2 separate regions of the Homo sapiens genome follow, and region 2 is linked to region 1. Evidence: promoter capture Hi-C in human tissues and cell types (Jung and others, 2019). All regions are on one chromosome and are shown on one strand. Each heading gives the region's core, a stretch centred on a gene start or on the middle of the fragment in contact. The rest is flanking DNA. Distances are from core to core; before and after follow the strand shown. Region 1 holds the start of TMPRSS11F (transmembrane serine protease 11F). Region 2 has its middle 69 kb from the start of TMPRSS11A.

Region 1 (4,449 bases), core at 1,406-3,905:
TGTTCTCTCAACCCAGAATACCGTCTTTCTCCTACTACTAATTCTGCTTGCTTTTAAAAACTAAACACAGTTATTACGTATTCAAAGAAGCTTTTATGAAATTGAATGTGCACCCCTGTAGCAGCATGTCAGTATTTGTTTTTTCGCATTGATCACAACGTGCCATCAGAATGTGGCTTATTGATTTGCCTCATCACAAAGGTCTCAACTTGTTGATAACTATCTCTCTTATCTCTGCCTCACTTGCAGAGGGCACCAAATACAGGGACCCATGAAAAAAACTTGAATAACCTACAATGTGGGATACTTTAAATAGTTCTCTAGTGCCTTAAGAATGTTAATGTGTTCTCCATATTAACTAGCTATTAACTCTTTGAAATCATAGAATTAAGCATTCAAAAGGACTTCAGGGCTATCTAACCCAGTGTATTAAAAAATATTTTTGACCATGACCCACGGTTAGAAATGTTCAACATCAAGGCCTGGTACACATACTTGTATGTGTACTGTCTATATATGAATCTGAATCTGAATCATATATCCATAATACAATATTTACACTAATACTTAAGATACAGAAAAAAATAAAATTAATACAAATCTTATTTTATTACTATTTAAATACACCAACAACAAATGAACAATACCAAAATAAACCAAAGAATAAACCAATAAACCAAAAATTGCTTTTAGCTATCCACAAATATTACTTCAAGGCCCATTAATGGTAACAACCTCACCCCTCATTCATTTACTTATAAACCTTCCCCACATTTCACAGATAAAAGTGAGGTCTTGAGAAGTACCAGACAAAAGAGTTCAAAGTTGGATCTTGAACACATCTAAATGATGGTACTCTTTCTACTTTACCAAAATGAGAAAGACAGGGCTTTTGCTAAGAGGCCATAGTCTATCTGACTAATTCATTCTTTGAGACTAGATCCCTTGGGCAAAATACCTTTACTAATGAATTCAATAAATCCACTGTCTAAGCTTCTTATCTTTATACACAAGATATATTTTTTGACAGAATATTTGTTTTAAAAGCAGATCTGATTTGAAATCTAATTAGCAAGAATATTTTAAATCCTCCAAATAATAAATGTTTGAGATGATGGATATGCTAATTACTCTGATCTGATCACTATATATTACATGTACTGAAATAGTGCTATGTACCCCATAAATACGTAGAATTATTATATGTCAACTTAATAATAAAACCAAAAAATCCTCAGAACTCTAATAAACTCTGGATCAAAGCTGACGAGGCTTCAATATAGAAATTTCATGTTGTAATGATATTTTCAGGGTGGAAAAGTGAGTGTTTGGAGATGATGCCGTAAGTTGGGAAGAGAAGAATCAGGCTGATAAAAAACACTTACTGAAGAATTCTGAAATAAATTAGAATAAGAGAACTCCAAATTTTTCTAATTTTTTAAAGAAATTTTTAGCATATTATATTTATATGAATGTTAGTTAAATATAAAAGTTTTTTCTACTGTACGTTTTGTCTTATTCTGTCTTTATCTTGATAAATAAGAAATATACTTTGTTGTATTTAGTAAGAAGTACAGATAATATGCTATATCATGCTATCATGATGGGTTTATATGGGAGATTTATGCATGAAATGGAAGTCTTCCTTAGGCTTATGCTGTCATTTGAAAGTAAATTAGGGAGGGCAGGAACACTCATCATTTAAGAGTGCCAGAGCCTACAGGCTTTAAGTATTTAGGTTAATTGAAGACAAAATCAAATGACTGAACAATTAAAATTATCACAAAATCATGATTAAGTTGGAAACATCAGTCAGTGCAGAACATGTGGGAAATTTGTGTCTGTAGAAAGATCGAGAACCTTTTTAAGAAACAAGGCTAGACTTAGCACAAGTTTGAATGAAATCATCCATCAAATATCAATTATTCCTTTCGAAGTCTATAAAACAATAGCCTGAATATTACCTAAACATAAATATATAATACAAATTTATTTACCTTAAATTCAACAATTGATCAATTATTTTGGAGTTCAATTATGATGATACAAAGTCTAGATTTTGTTAATTTGATAATTTTTTACATATGAGTATTTTAATTTTAATCATTTCACTCATGATATACAAAATAACCTATCATAGTTTCTATTAGAGTTAAATAAAAATTCTAGTAGACTCTCCTCTTAAATTTATATTTAATTTTCCCAGAATATACATCAATAAGCAACATATGATAAAAATGTATACCATGCTATGGAACATGGAAAAGTAACTAAATGGGCTATATTAAACACTTTATTCTTTGAAGTGTAGGTTTTACTAAATGTTTTAAATATTAATATAGTTAACTTATTACCTCACATCATTTCTATTTCTTTTATTTAGAAACAAAAAACACCACATTGGCCTCTGTTGTTCAAAAAAATTCTGATATTTAAAAACAACAACAATAAAACTTTAATATAAAATACAATAACACACATTAAAACTCTAATGTTTAAATCAATCTCCACCAGCCAACATCTGTACTACCTGTCTCAGGAATTGTAAACCTCTGTCCCCACTGATAACCTTTACTGAGAAAAGCTGAATACTTACGCGTACATCATGAACCCAGGACTGGGGCAGCTTCTATTCAGTCACCATCTGATCTGTATCAGCAGGTTAGGACTTGGAGGCTGCAAAATAATGACAGTCACTGGCAACAAGAAAGGAAACAAGTTTGACAGGTTTAGTGAGTGAGGTATGCAGTCTTCTAGCCTGATAAGAACAAGAACATGATCAGTTTTGTGCCAACTGGCTCCACACAGTGAAGTAATTGTCAATATCCGCATAGAGAAGCTCCAAGTAGTAGAGGGCTCAGAATGTGCAACTTGTGATGATTCAGAAGACCACACTTTTCCAGTTGGGGAAGTATGATAAGCATTGAGGTGTGGCCCCAGTTTGCTTTCCAAAAAAAAAAAAAAACCAACAAAACAAAACACACTAGAGCACACTGATGGCACTTCTTATTTGTTCATTAGAAATGTTCAGTCTCTTCCCTTTGAGGGAATAACAAGGGGTAGCGGAGTGGAGAAGACCTGAGTTATGAACCAGGGCACCTGTCTCAGCCATTATTCAGCTTATTGGGACTTACTTTCCTCCTAAGGAAAATGGCAGGACTGTATTAGCTTTTCTTAATACTGTCCATTTTAGCTCTAAATATAATAGAACGTATTGAAACAATTTATTTACCCCAAAAAAGGCAGAAAAGGAAGGTAAATATCAAAAGCAAAAACGTATTTTCTTCTTTCTTATTATTAGGAATAACTTTGTCCATCTTAGTGGTATGAATTCCCAGTATTTACAAACCGTCCCTTTAAATACTTTCATATATCTATAGAGAATTTAGTATAAATACATGAACTTCTTATAAAGATCAGAAAAGTTACAAAATAGAAATTACAATTTTAAGAGCTATTAAGGCTCAGAGTCAAAGGATATTAAAGAAAAATGATAAATTTTTACTTTGGTTGTACAGAATATCTTCATCTAAAATGCTAAAAATGCAATGTGCCTCTAATTGTAATACTTTCATTATAATGCTCTGCAAAGGTATTAAAAGGAACTATATTTTCCAAAACATTTGACAAATGAAAAAAATGAAACAGATTGTCAGTTTGTATAAACACCAACAATATGACAGAAGACATATGATAATACAATTTTGAGTAGAACTAAAAATGTCTAAATAAGTAGTTAATAAAATTTACCAGTCAGTTCACACTGAAAACTATAACTTCATTTAGCAAAAGTAACTTTCATCTTTGGAGCATTACTTTTTTTCAAAAGTAAAAAATTCCAAAATCTAATAAAAAGGTGCTAGAAAAATTATATTTGTTTAGTATATAAATATAACTGATTATTTTCATTTTTATATAGTATATGTAGTAGTATTTGTGCTAATTTGAAATTAACATTGTGTAAATATTCTTTTTAAATGGTTTTCATGTTTACATTTAAGCATTTCACATTAATAATAAACTAATATTTTATAATCCTTATTTGTTAAAATTCATAAATATATTCTCAGCCTCTTACATTAGTAAATAATAATACAGCAGACAATAAGCTCTGTGGCTTAACTGAGGGAAATTAGGCTTTACAAGAAACATGTCCAAGTAATTACAAGCAAGTCCAGCAACCAGCTTTGAGGATTCTGGATTAAAACATGTGGTATGTATAGATTTATTCTCTCAAGAAAATCAGTGTTTTCATATTGAATCACAGGACATGGTGGGGGGAACTTAGGAGATACAGCAATATTTACTTTAACCATGTTTAAAAAGTTAGAGATTACAGTAGAAGCTGTTTTATGTTTAATGGCTCAAAAATAGAGATTTAATTGTCTCCCATCGGAATATTTTCTGTTTGGCCATTCTTTCAAATGATCTTTTATTTGAATAGTTTTA
Region 2 (4,043 bases), core at 536-3,035, 97 kb before region 1:
CAGGCCTCTGAGCCCAAGCCTGCACATATACATCCAGATGGCCTGAAGTAACTGAAGAATCACAAAAGAAGTGAAAATGGCTGGTTCCTGCCTTAACTGATGACATTACCTTGTGAAATTCCTTCTCCTGGCTCAGAGGCTCCCCCACTGAGCACCTTGTGACCCCCTCCCCTGTCTGCCGGAGAACAACCCCCTTTGACTATAATTTTCCACTACCTACCCAAATCTTATAAAATGGCCCCACCCCTATCTCTCTTTGCTGACTCTCTTTTTGGACTCATCCTCCTGCACCCAGGCGATTAAAAAGCTTTATTGCTCACACAAAGCCTGTTTGGTGGTCTCTTCACATGGACGCACATGACATTTGGTGCTGTGACTCAGATCGGGGGACCTCCCTCGGGAGATCAATCCCCTGTCCTCCTGCTATTTGCTCCATGAGAAAGATCCACCTACGACATCGAATCCTCAGACCAACCAGCCCAAGGAACATCTCACCAATTTTAAATCAGGTAAGCGGCTTCTTTTTACTCTCTTCTCCAACCTCTCTCACTATCCCTCAACTTCTTTCTCCTTTCAATTTCTGTGTCACCCTTCAATCTCTCCCTTCATTTCAATCCCTTTCCTTTTCTGGTAGAGACAGAGGAGACACGTTTTATCTGTGAACCCAAAACTCCAGCGCCAGTCATGGACTTGGGAAGACAGTCTTCGCTTGGTGTTTAATGACTGAGGGGATGCCTGCTTGATTATTCACCCACGTTTCAGAGGTGTCTGATCACTGTGGGGACGCCTGCCTTGATCCTTCACCCTTAGTGGCAAGTATCACTTTCCTGGGGGGGGGCAAGCACCCCCCACCCCTTATCTCTGTGTCTCTACCCTCTCTTTACTCTGGGCTTATCTCCTTCACTATGGGCAACCTTCCACCCTCCATTCCTCCATCCTCTCCCTTAGCCTGTGTTCTCAAGAACTTAAAACCTCTTCAACTCACACCTGACCTAAAACCTAAACACCTTATTTTCTTCTGCAATGCTGCTTAACCCCAACACAAACTCGACAATGGTTCCAAATAGCCAGAAAATGGCACTTTTGATTTTTACATCCTACAAGATCTAGATAATTCTTCTCATAAAATGGGCAAATGGTCTGAGGTGCCTGACGTCCAGGCATTCTTTTACACATCAGTCTCTTCCTAATCTCTGCTCCCAGTGCGACTCATCCCAAACCTTTCTTCTTTCCCTCCCACCTGTCCCCACAGTCCCAACCCCAAGCGTTGCTTTCAATCTTCCTTTTCTACCGACCCATCTGACCTCTCCCTTCATCCCAAGATTGCTCCTCCTCAGGTAACTCCCCGCCAGGCTGAGTCAGGCTCCAATTCTTCCTCAGCTTCCGCTCCTCCACCCTATAATCCTTCTATCACCTCCTCTCCCCACACCCAGTCTGGCTTACAGTTTTGTTCCGCGACTAGCCCTCCCCCACCTCCCAACAATTTCCTTTTAAAAATGGTGGCTAGAGCTAAAGGCATAGTCAAGGTTAATGCTCCTTTTTCTTTATCCGACCTCTCCCAAATCAGTTAGCATTTAGGCTTTTTTTCGTCAAATATGAAAACCCAGCCCAGTGCATGGCTCATTTGGCAACAACCCTGAGACGCTTTACAGCCCTAGACCCTGAAAGGTCAGAAGGCCGTCTCATTCTAAATATGCATTTTATTACCCAATCTGCTCCCAACATTAAATAAAGCTCCAAAAATTAGATTCTGGCCCTCAAACCCCACAACAGGACTTAACCTCTCCTTCAAGGTGTACAATAATAGAGAAGAGTTGCAATTACTTGCCTCTTCTCTGAGAGAAAGCCTAGCCACATCTCCAGCACACAAGAACTTCAAAATGCCTAAACCACAGTGGCCAGGTGTTCCTTCAGGACTTCATCCCTCAGGATCTTGCTTCACGTGCTGGAAATCTGGCCACTGGGCCAAGGAATGCCTGTGGCCCGGGATCCCTCCTAAGCTGTATCCCATCTATGAGGGACTCCACTGGAAATCGGACTGTCCAACTCACCTGGCAACCACTCCCAGAGCCCCTGGAACTCTGGCCCAAGACTCTCTGACTGACTCCTTCCCAGATCTTCTCAGCTTAGCAGCTGAAGACTGAAGCTGCCCGATCACCTCAGAAGCCTCCTGGACCATCAAAGATGCTTTAGGTAACTCTTACAGTGGAGGGTAAGTCCGTCCCCTTCTTAATCAATACAGAGGCTACCCACTCCACATTACCTTCTTTTCATGGGCCTGTTTCCTTTGCCTCCATAACTGTTGTGAGTATTGATGGCCAGGCTTCTAAACCTCTTAAAACTCCCCAACTCTGGTGCCAACTAGGACAACATTCTTTTATGCACTCCCTTTTAGTTATCCCCACCTGCCCAGTTCCCTTATTAGGCCGAGACATTTTAACTAAATTATCTGCTTCCCTGACTATTACTGGGCTACAGCCACACCTCATTGCCACTCTTTTCCCCAGTTCAAAGCCTCCTTCGCATCCTCCCCTTGTATCTCCCCATCTTAATCCACAGGTATGGGATGCCTCTACTCCCTCCCTGGCAACCACACGCCCATTACTATCCCATTAAAACCTAATAACCCTTACCCCACTCAATGCCAATGCCAATATCCATCCCACAGGAGGCTTTAAAAGGATTAAAGCCTGTTATCACTCGCCTGTTACAGCATGGCCTTTTAAAGCCTATAAACTCTCCCTACAATTCCCCCATTTTACCTGTCCAAAAACTGGACAAATCTTACAGGTTAGTTCAGGATCTGCACCTTATCAACTAAATTGTTTTGCCTATCCACCCTGTGGTGCCTAACACATACACTCTTTTGTCCTCAATACCTTCCTCCACAACTCACTATTCCATTCTTGATCTTAAAGATGCTTTTTTCACTATTCCCCTGTACCCCTTGTCCCAGCCTCTCTTTGCTTTTACCTGGACTAACCCTGACACCCATCAGTCCCAGCAGCTTACCTGGGGTGTACTACCACAAGGCTTCAGGGACAGCCCTCATTACTTCAGCCAAGCTCTTTCTCATAATTTACTTTCTTTCCACCCCTCTGCTTCTCACCTTATTCAAAATATTGATGGCCTTCTACTTTGTAGCTCCTGCTTTGAATCTTCTCAACAAGACAACCTCCTGCTCCTTCAACACTTATTCTCCAAGGGATATCCAGTATCCCCCTCCAAAGCTCAAATTTCTTCTCTGTTACCTACCTCGGCATAATTCTTCATAAAAACACACATACCCTCCCTGCCAATCATGTCTGACTGATGTCTCAAACCCCAACCCCTTCTACAAAACAACTCCTTTCCTTCCTGGGCATGGTTAGATACTTTTGCCTTTGGATATCTGGTTTTGCCATCTTAACAAAACCGTTATATAAACTCACAAAAGGAAACCTAGCTGACCCTGTAGATCCTAAATCTTTTCCCCACTCCTCCTTTCATTCCTTGAAGACAGCTTTAGAGACTGCTCCCACACTAGCTCTTCCTGACTCATCCCAACCCTCTTCATTACACACAGTGGAAGTGCAGGGCTATGCAGTGGGAATTCTTACACGAGGACTGGGACCGCACCCTGTAGCCTTTTTGTCCAAACATCTTGACCTTACTGTTTTAGGCTGGCCATCATGTCTCCATGCAGCAGCTGCCACTGCCCTAATACTTTTAAAGGCCCTCAAAATCACAAACTATATTCAACTCATTCTCTACAGTTCTCATAACTTCCAAAATCTGTTTTCTTTCTCACACCTGATGCATATACTTTCTGCTCCCCGGCTCCTTCAGCTATATTCACTCTTTGTTGAGTCTCCCACAATTACCATTGTTCCTGGCCTGGACTTCAATCCAGCCTCCCACATTATTCCGGATACCACACCTGACCCCCATGACTATATCTCTCTGATCCACCTGACATTCACTTCACTTCTCCATATTTCCTTCTTTCCTGTTCCTCACCCTGATCACACTTGGTTTATTGATGGCAGTTCCACCAGGCCTAA

The links. Contacts are between HindIII fragments. The study calls those that stand out against the background at their distance.
Region 2: a fragment that was not itself captured here is called in contact with the fragment with the promoter of TMPRSS11F in region 1 in 2 of the 25 tissues and cell types used here (H1 embryonic stem cells and stomach).

The regions. Positions count from the first base shown.
Region 1 is chr4:68,127,214-68,131,662 of GRCh38, forward strand. TMPRSS11F (transmembrane serine protease 11F) reads right to left here and starts at 2,656. Exons shown (of 10, transcript NM_207407.2): 1 at 2,597-2,656. The coding sequence starts at 2,607. The HindIII fragment of the contact is 14,883 bases long and covers 542-4,449 here.
Region 2 is chr4:68,030,949-68,034,991 of GRCh38, forward strand. No RefSeq gene overlaps it. Among named protein-coding and RNA genes, the nearest start is that of TMPRSS11A, 69 kb to the left of the region's middle. The HindIII fragment of the contact is 8,743 bases long and covers 1-4,043 here.